Regions from separate parts of the Homo sapiens genome. Here regions 2 and 3 are each linked to region 1. The links are contacts of gene promoters, found by promoter capture Hi-C in blood cells and fetal thymus (Javierre and others, 2016). All regions are on one chromosome and are shown on one strand. The core of a region is centred on a gene start or on the middle of the fragment in contact, and the rest is flanking DNA. Distances in the headings are between cores, read along the strand shown. Region 1 holds the start of C12orf50 (chromosome 12 open reading frame 50). Region 2 has its middle 75 kb from the start of LINC02458. Region 3 has its middle 46 kb from the start of LINC02458.

Region 1 (2,963 bases), core at 80-2,579:
ACTTTCCTTACAGGTTAGCTGTAAAAATGATGTGATATAAGGTATTGTGAGCTATTATTATTATTTATTCATTTAATTATTTACTGGTAACTTACTCATTAGCCACTCTGCTAAGTACTTGGGGATACAGCAGTGAAATAGACAAAACACTCTGCCCACCTGGGACATGAAATCTGTTATTATTCTTTATTATCCTAGCATTTAATCTAACAGGTAATAGAAGTGAATCCAATTTCTGTGGTCAGAGAGGTTGACTCCATTCAGGTTTCCTAACAGAGAGGAAACACTTGAAACCAGACATATCATCTTTTTCACTGGATTATTTCTTGCATGAGCACAAAGCTCCAAATATTGAGTTTCTACCTTTATCTGGTTTTACTAAGATCTATACATCCTAATACATTGGAGGAATTCTCAGTTTTTCCCATTTAACTTTATAAAGTTTAATTTATATGTGGCCAATTTGTTTATATTAATTTTCTTTTTTAATGATATTTAAATATTTGTTATTACTTAGACTTTTGACAGAGGAAAATTCAGTAATTGGGTTAATAAATTTCAAATAGGAAAACAGATTTATTACACTAAGATTGACACTTACCTGAATTCAACTATTTGAATTATAATGACTGGAATCATATTAACTAAAACAATATCTTGTAACCTATGATGTTTTAATATTAGGAATTTAATGTCTCAAGGTGTCATAATATAGGCAAAAGTGCCACATGAAGATTCAAAAGCTATAGACATATAACTGGTATATATAAGGGTAGTTTCAAACAAATAATAATTTTAAATTATCTCAGATTTCTTCAGAGAAATTCAGTATGTCAAAAATACATGATAAGCTGTTACTCCAGATTTTACAAATATAAGATATCTTGCAAGAAAATAGTAAATTTTTGTTCAGCAATACAAGTTATTGCCATATCTCCCTTCATTCTACTAAAAAGATTAAGCATGTGAAGTACTGTCAATTGTACAATATTTACCTTTATGCATGTGGAATTAAAAAAGAAATAGCAGTCATTCCCAACTTCTGCCATTTTCAACTCTCTTGCTGCTAATCCAATGGTTTTTTTTTTTTGAAAAATATATATGAATTTCAGGAATGCAAATACAAGAACTATCAGTGTGTAAGGGGGAAAAATAATTTCTTTTCCACAGTCTTTCAGGCTATCAGTAGTATTCCTTTAAAACTGACCTCCTGTTGACAGTATATTACGCAATAGATAATTCTTAAAGACATTTAAATTAGAAGATACCTTCTCTAGCTTTGCAGAAACGCTGAAAGTGGTTGCTAGTAAGCACACAAACTCAAACTTCTAGAATTTTCCTCATTGTTACCTAATCCATTGTTTGCTCATCATAAATGACCTCACATGTAACTGCAGGCCAATGTTCACTCAGGTAAACTACAGTTTACCTGAGTGAACACTGTATTTCCCTTACTCAGTTTTAGCATATTAACTACAAAGGACTAGCAAAAATAAAATAGCATACTTTAATCTTTCAATGTTCTCGTTGAATATGGACTATAAACTAGTTTATACTTTTATAATAGAAAGTGATAAGTATTTCACAAGTAAACAGCTATTTCTAAATCTTCGTTTCTATAGAGGTTTTGGGAATAACACTAAAAATTTGCCATAGGTAAATGAGCTACTCATATTCTAAGATAATAAAAACAATTATTTAAATATGTACTCTCTACTATCCATTGATTTGGGAAAAATCATATTCAAATTGTGATATATTAATAGGTACCTGAAAATATATTGGGCTACTTATTCATCTTGTGGCTATATTCCATTTATTTTTCATCCATCATAAAAAGAGGAATATCTTCTTCCTATAGCAGAAAGTTTCCAGAGTGCTTGAAGGCTTTGAGAATTTGTTGAAAACAAGGGAAATACTCTGATTTCCAGAATGAAACATTTCAATCAGCAGTTATTTATATCTTCCTCTTAGTATCTTTAATCAAATAATTAAAACCCAGCAGAAATTAATAAAAAATATTCCTCATAAATGTATTAGTCCGTTTTCATGCTGCTGATAAAAGCATACCCAACTGGGAAGAAAAAGAGGTTTAATTGGACTTACAGTTCCACATGGCTGGGGAGGCCTCAGAATCATGGCAGGAGGTGAAAGGCACTTCTTACACTGCGGTGGCAAGAGAAAATGAGGAGAAAGTAAAGGTAGAATCCCCTGATAAACTGATCAGATCTTATGAGACTTATTCACTATCATGAGATTAGCATGGGAAAAACCCGTACCCATGATTCAATTACCTCCCCCTGAATCCCTCCCACAACATGTGGGAATTCTGGGAGATACAATTCAAGTTGATATTTGGGTGGAGACAGAGCCAAACCATATCATTCCACCACTTGTCCCTCCAAACTTCATGTCCTCACATTTCAAAACCAATCATGCCTTTCCAATAGTCCCCCAAAGTCTTAACTCATTTCAGTATTAATCCAAAAGTCCACAGTCCAGTGTCTCATCTGAGACAAGGCAAATCCCTTCCACCTATGAGTCTGTAAAATCAAAAACAAGCTAGTTACTTCCTAGATACAATGGGGATACTGGTATTGGGCAAAGCCACTGCAAGTGGGATAAGTTGGCCAAAACAAAGGAGTTACAGGACCCCTGCATGTCCTAATTCCAGCAGGGCAGTCAAATTTTAAAGCTCCAAAATGATGTCCTTTGACTCCAGGTCTCACATCCAGGTCATGTGGATGCAAAAGGTGGGTTCCCATGGTCTTGGGCACTCTGACCCTGTGGCTTTGCAGGGTACAGCCTCCCTCCTGGCTGCTTTCACAGGCTGGCATTAAGTGTCTGTGGCTTTTCCAGGTGCATGGCACAAGCTGTCAGTGGAGCTACCATTCTGGGGTTTGGAGGATGGTGGCTCTCTTCTAAAAGCTCCACTAGGCAGTGCCCCAGGAGGGACTCTGTGT
Region 2 (3,130 bases), core at 153-2,652, 920 kb after region 1:
GAGCAGCAAATCCAGTCTTGGGAGTCAAACTTATCCCTCTACATCCTGATAAGTTATTCAGATTTCTATATTCAGCACAACTACCCCTCTTCGGGAGAGCCTTCATGCCATTGCTCCACACCTGAGGCTCTGAGAGGTGTTCACCTTTTGCCCCCGTGCCCTGTGCACACACCTCTACTAGCATCTATGAGCTGTAGAGTCAATATCCTCTCTCTCTCTCTCTGTCTCTCTCAAGTAGTTCCCTCAACATTGTGAATCCTTAAAGGAAGGAGCTGTGTTTTCTATCTCTAGATTCTCAACACATTTTAAGTACCAAATAAACGTTATCTCTCTCCTCTTTTCCTCCATCTTCAATTAGCAAAGGTAAGAGTTAAAGCCCTGAGAATAGATAAGGGCTGAAAGATGATAAAGAACTCAGAATAGAGAGGGTTCAGGACTGTTCTTTGGGAAATGTCTTCATTTCAGGAGAAGAGAGTTCTGTGTCATGGAACTTAAGAGAATTTCCCAAAAAGACATTTTGGGATTCCAAGGCAGGCAGACCACTTGAGGTCAAGAGTTTGAGACCAGCCTGGGCAACACGGCAAAACCCCATCTCTATAAAAAATACAAAAATTAGCCAGATATGGTGGTGTGCACCTATAGTCTCATCTACTCAGGAGGCCTAGGTGGGAGGATCGATTGAACCTGGGAGATGAAGGCTGCAGTCAGCTGTGGTTGTACCGCTACGCTCCAGCCTGGGTGACAGAGCGAGACACTGTTTCAAAAAAATATCCCCCCAAAATAGAGTGGCAAACAGCCCTACTACATGCCGCAGAGAGAGCAATAAGAAGGAGACTGCAAAAAGACCTTGGATATGGCAGTTGCATTACATTATTTGAATTCAAATCAAAGTACCATAGAATAATGTTCCCAATTATTTCCTCAGCCTTAGCAATGGTAAGTCTTTGTTTTCCTATCTGTGAGTATTATGAAGATCTGAGGAAACAATGAGATTCTTTTGCCAAATGACAACAAAATTCATTTTGAGGGCAGATAGACAGCTATATACAAGTAAATATACGATGAACTGTAAACTCGAGGCAACAAGGGAAGTTGGTATGAGTCACAGCATGACTGAGCATTGTTCAGAAAACAGCTCCCACCTCTTTGTTTAAGTTATTTCTAGCAGGTGGCTGAAGCACAGATTCAAGGGTGTGAGAACCTGGAATAATCATACATCTTCTTTTCTTCATAAACTCCGTTCTGACCCAAGAATCTTCACTCATGAAACAAAGTGCTGAGGTAGAAGAAAGAGGCCTGAACTCACAGAGGTATGATATTGAGTTCTGGTTTGGCTACTATCTAACAAAAAGCAAGTCACTTCTGAGGGCCTGTATCTCCTTATGTATAAAACATATGCTTTTCTAAGAGATTGTAAGGTCCTTAGACAAACCACCAAGTTTCATTTCTTTTCATCACCATTCTCTAGCATAGTAGTTTTATGTAAAGTGGAAACTGAATAAGAAGAATTTGAAAATAGTTTAGAATCTTGGTTTTAATATCTAATATTTGAAGTTCTGACATTTACTTTGAAATGCTTTTTGACCTCAGATAATAGCCAGATATATTTATTGAATGCTATAGTATCAGCAAACTATGGCCCAGAAACCAAATCCAGCACTCTTTCTGTTTTTATAAAGTTTTACCAGAAAAAGTCATGCACAATTCATTTACATATTGAGAGCTAGCTGTTTTCAAACTACAACAGCAGTGTTGAGTACTTGCAACAGAGTCATTCCAGCCTGCAAAATCTACTTACTATCTGGTTTATAGAGGAAGTTTGCCAACTCCTGATATAGGCTACTGAAGTCTGAATGCCAAGAAAGCATGTGGGATAAGGTCCAGGTCGGACCTTAAAGTTAGTGCTAAACCATGGGCATTCTTCCACTGGGATAATACAAAATCTGCCTTGCAACAGAATGAGTTTAGTGGTCGGTAAGCATACTTCTCTTTAACGTCCTCCTTTGTCTCTTGGATCTGCATGCTCAAGAAAGCTGTCAAAATGGAGCACTTAAAAGTAAAAATCAATCTTCACTCTTAAGCACTGGTAACTCAATATTGTCCAAAAGTAGGCCAAACCACACACATGGCCAAAGCTATTTTTGCCTGGCTAATTTTTCTTCATGCTCAAGGTCAAGCTATGGCCTCAGCAACTCTAGGAAGCACTTCTAGAAACACACCTGGTATATTTTAATGCCTGACTCTACTTAAGACTATGGAATCCTCAATGGATCATCTTTCTACTCCTGGCACATCTTTCTACTTCTACATGATACCACAGTGCTTATCATGGCATTTGATAGATACTCAATACTTTTGAACCAAATTGAACTAACAGGTAGTGTTCTTTCTGGACAAAGACATCTACCTTGGTCTGAGTTGTTGAAATGATACCAAATGAATTGAAGTCTTTCTGTCCAAAAACAGGAAATAAATACTAACTTCCCCAGATTTTTGTTTTTTTTTTTCACGCTAGTCCTCACCATTTTCCAATTTGATAGTAAAATGAGAGCAATATCATACAAATGTCAAATATTTGTTGAGCACCTACTCTGAACAAAGCAAATAGAAGTAGACATAATTCCCTTTTAGTCTCATGATACAATTATTTTTCCTCAAATATTCCCTAGAGGTCAATTACCATCTTTTATGCTGAGAGGATAGAAGCCTACCATTATTAACGACCTGGCCTGACAAATGTATAGGCTGAATAGTAGTAAGAGGAAGAAGACTGTCGGGGTTCACACCATGCAGTCTTCATCCAAGGAATCAGGATAAAACAGCAGTTGCCTTAATTTGGCTGGGCAAAGTATATACCAATTAATGATGAGATAACTGGTTCAGATAAAAGCTTGTAATTAATGAATCATTAAGGCACACACTTTAGGAACATAGAAGAATCAGGAGCCACACAGCTTGCCCAGAAGCAATCTTCCAGTTTTGTTGCTGTGCTTAAATGCATTGCTAATTTCTGAGAGCCTGCCATTTGTAATAGCACTGAAATGAATCACAGTGAATTTATGAATGTGAATCTGCATTGTTCATTACACAAGCTCTCTCCCGGGGAATGGAACCACCCTGAGAGCAACTT
Region 3 (3,019 bases), core at 105-2,604, 940 kb after region 1:
ATTATTATGTATTTAATACATTAAATATAATATTTAATATTTAATCTTATTAAAAGAAAAATAAAAATCATGCCCAAAGTACATTTTGGTATTTTGAAACACAACCTAAGAATCTATTTTCCAGTCATCTTCCTGGAGCTAGCTGGATCATAGATTCAAGAATGGCTCTTGGAGGTCAAAGGTTCCAAACCATTCTCATTTTGTGAGAATAGTAAGTCACAGTCCATGATAGGATCTTGATACAACATTGCTAAATTCTACTGCATCCTGAATAGAGTGTGACATAATTGCCAGTATCATCCATATGGTTCCAAGTGAATCTTAACTGAATGCCAAAACCCAGAAGTTGTATGCTGAGTAGGTGTAAGATAAATGTCATTACCTGATCTGTGCAGTAGCCTCCCAGGCCTCTATGAGACATTAGTAGTGTTTGACTTGTTGTCATTAAAGACAAAAAAAGGAAACTTTATACAGTATGTAGTGGTTTTCCAGGTTCCACGCAGCACGCAGGTTGCAAAGTGAGCCCAGCCTTACACCTACCCCATTGCCCTCTCACTAATTATTCATCAAGCTTATTTCCCAATCTGACTCCTCATTTCCATAACCTATTTTCCTCTTCACCTTTCTACCTCTCTGCTCCAGTTTTTAATTTTTTTTCCTTTCTCATTCTCTAATGCAAAAGTACATTTTGTCCCTAGATAGCACATTTTATATATTCAGGTTAATATTATTAGACTAAAACATTCCTCTTTACTATCATTGATCCCTAAAGCAATCCTGAAATGGCAACCCATTTAAAGCAGAACTCCAGTCTAGATGCAAAGGCAAGAATCCCCCAGCTACAAAAGGGGTACACTTTTCATTGTATTTTCAATTCATGTTATTCATCTTAGAAGCTATAGAGCCTTTTAAGAGCCTTTAACTGTATTTCTAGTGTCAGAGAACATTTAACCAAAAAGGCAATCTCTTCCTTTACATTTATGTCAAATTAAGTACTTGGTGAAAGTAACAGCCCTGGACAGGGAATCATGTTCTCAGGTGCACGTTTCTAGCTTGATATTGGCTGTGGGCTCACAAGCAATTTATTAAATTTTTAAAGCCTTGGTTCCCTCATCTGTAAGATGGGAATCCTAAAATGCCTACATTACTATCACTGGGCAAGTAAATGACACAATACACAGTTCCTTGCACATAAGGAAGACTTAAGAAATTAGTCACATTATTATTAGCATTATTATTATCATTAATAATACATTAACATTTACATAATGAAAGATTCACCAGCTAAAAAATAAATCTCCATGCGATTGGTTCAGTGTCCAAAATACAGGCTGGAAAAGAGAATCAGAAGGCAGGTGCTGGTTTGTGAAACTACAAATCCCAGAGAATAACAAAGTGTGATGAATAAGTTACGTGGTTAATAAACGTAGTTTGTGATTTGGTTAAATACGTGCCCCATTCTCAGGGACTCGGAGAAGAAATTCTATTTTGATTATCCCAGTTTGAATAGGAAACACAAGATAAATGGTTGATTCTTTCCCTTTATTTACCAGTTTAGCACATCGAATGTGATTAATAAGTTCCATAAATCTATCTTAATTTATAGGCATTTTCATTTTATTCTCTTGATACCTATTTGTCAGAAAGACTGAATCATTAGATCTTTTGAGATCTTTAAAATTTCCCTCAGTCAGGATTTTTCTAATTGCATCCCTGTGGTGTCATTAGGAGATTCCCATGTTCTCTATTTTTTCTGTCAACTGTTAAATCTAAGGCATGATCCGATTCAGATTTGATATTTTTTTTGCAAGGCTACCTTAGAGATGATGCACTGTTCCATCAGAAGTCACGTTGTCTCTCTTTTATTTTATAAGCTGTAATTGATGCCATGGTCTTGAGCCCTAATGGGGATCACTGGGGCTGGGGAAGAATGAGAAAAATATTGCAATTCTATCATTTCTTCACTTATTTCTTAAAATATTTCTATAATGAGAAACTTTCCCTTGCTTTCCATTTGGTTACTTAATGGTACAACATAGGAAACATAGGGTAAATGCTTAATCCTTCTCCCAACTTCTAAATTTTAAAAAGAATAAATTGGTTCTCCGCATTCTGAAGCTAGTACATTTTGTTGATGGTAAGCTTTCTTTTTTTTTTTTGGATAAGTATTATTATGAACCCATTGATTTAAATGTATTTAGTATTAAAGTCATTGCAGCTTACATCTTTATTGATAATCAGATTGCTTCATCTTTTTATGAAGTTGCATTTATTGTAATATATGGATACAGGTCCAGTTACTGAAAGAATAATCAGACAAAAATCAGCAGATAAAAAGAAATTGTAAAAATGATGACTAAGAGTTTACGTAGTCTTATATATAAAACACTGCTCAAACAACTATAGAATATATGGTTTTTCTTGTATAATTGGAATTGTTTTCTCTTTTGCCAGTGGATCTTCTTTAGGTTGATTCCTGAATCTTTTTAACACTACCTTAATAGTGTTTAATAGCCTCCTTGGTAAAATATTTCAAACTCATCTTGTACATTTCCTGTCCCAGGAATTGTGGTTTGCTTTAGTGGGAAATAGTATTTCAGAATAAAAATCCGAGTGTTAGAGGGCTTATTACTCTTTGGTTAACCATGGTTTCTAGGCCTTTTCATTAGACTAAGCTAGGAATTATTTTTAAGATAAATCACATCAAAATCCCTACTATATCTTCCAATTTAAATTCAAGACTACAGGATTTTTACTTAACCTCTTCTATCTTATTTCTGTGTCTCCTTTCTCCTATTTTGAGGATGACAAACCTGGCTCTCAAGGACACAGGGATAACTGAATTAAGCCATCACATAGCTACTCATTTGTCTGTTTCCAGATTATCACACAATAGTGGTAGAATAAAACACCTACTCGACCTGCAGTATTACTACAGTCACGTTACTGGGTTTTAAAACCATTTAGAATACTTCTTCACCATGTGGCTATCCCACAAACTGAACATACATTTGTGGTT

Evidence for each region. Contacts are between HindIII fragments. The CHiCAGO score rates a contact against its expected background, and 5 or more counts as called.
Region 2: a fragment that was not itself captured here is called in contact with the fragment with the promoter of C12orf50 in region 1 in 1 of 17 cell types (M0 macrophages); the score reaches 6.3 in M0 macrophages.
Region 3: a contact is called between a fragment that was not itself captured here and the fragment with the promoter of C12orf50 in region 1, in 4 of 17 cell types (M0 macrophages, M2 macrophages, M1 macrophages and 1 more). The highest score is 7.9, in M0 macrophages.

What each region holds. Positions count from the first base shown.
Region 1 is chr12:88,028,072-88,031,034 of GRCh38, forward strand. It overlaps C12orf50 (chromosome 12 open reading frame 50), which reads right to left and starts at 1,330. Exons shown (of 13, transcript NM_152589.3): 1 at 1,269-1,330. The HindIII fragment of the contact is 7,634 bases long and covers 1-2,963 here.
Region 2 is chr12:88,943,376-88,946,505 of GRCh38, forward strand. No RefSeq gene overlaps it. Among named protein-coding and RNA genes, the nearest start is that of LINC02458, 75 kb to the right of the region's middle. The HindIII fragment of the contact is 2,971 bases long and covers 1-2,888 here.
Region 3 is chr12:88,971,851-88,974,869 of GRCh38, forward strand. No RefSeq gene overlaps it. Among named protein-coding and RNA genes, the nearest start is that of LINC02458, 46 kb to the right of the region's middle. The HindIII fragment of the contact is 1,571 bases long and covers 570-2,140 here.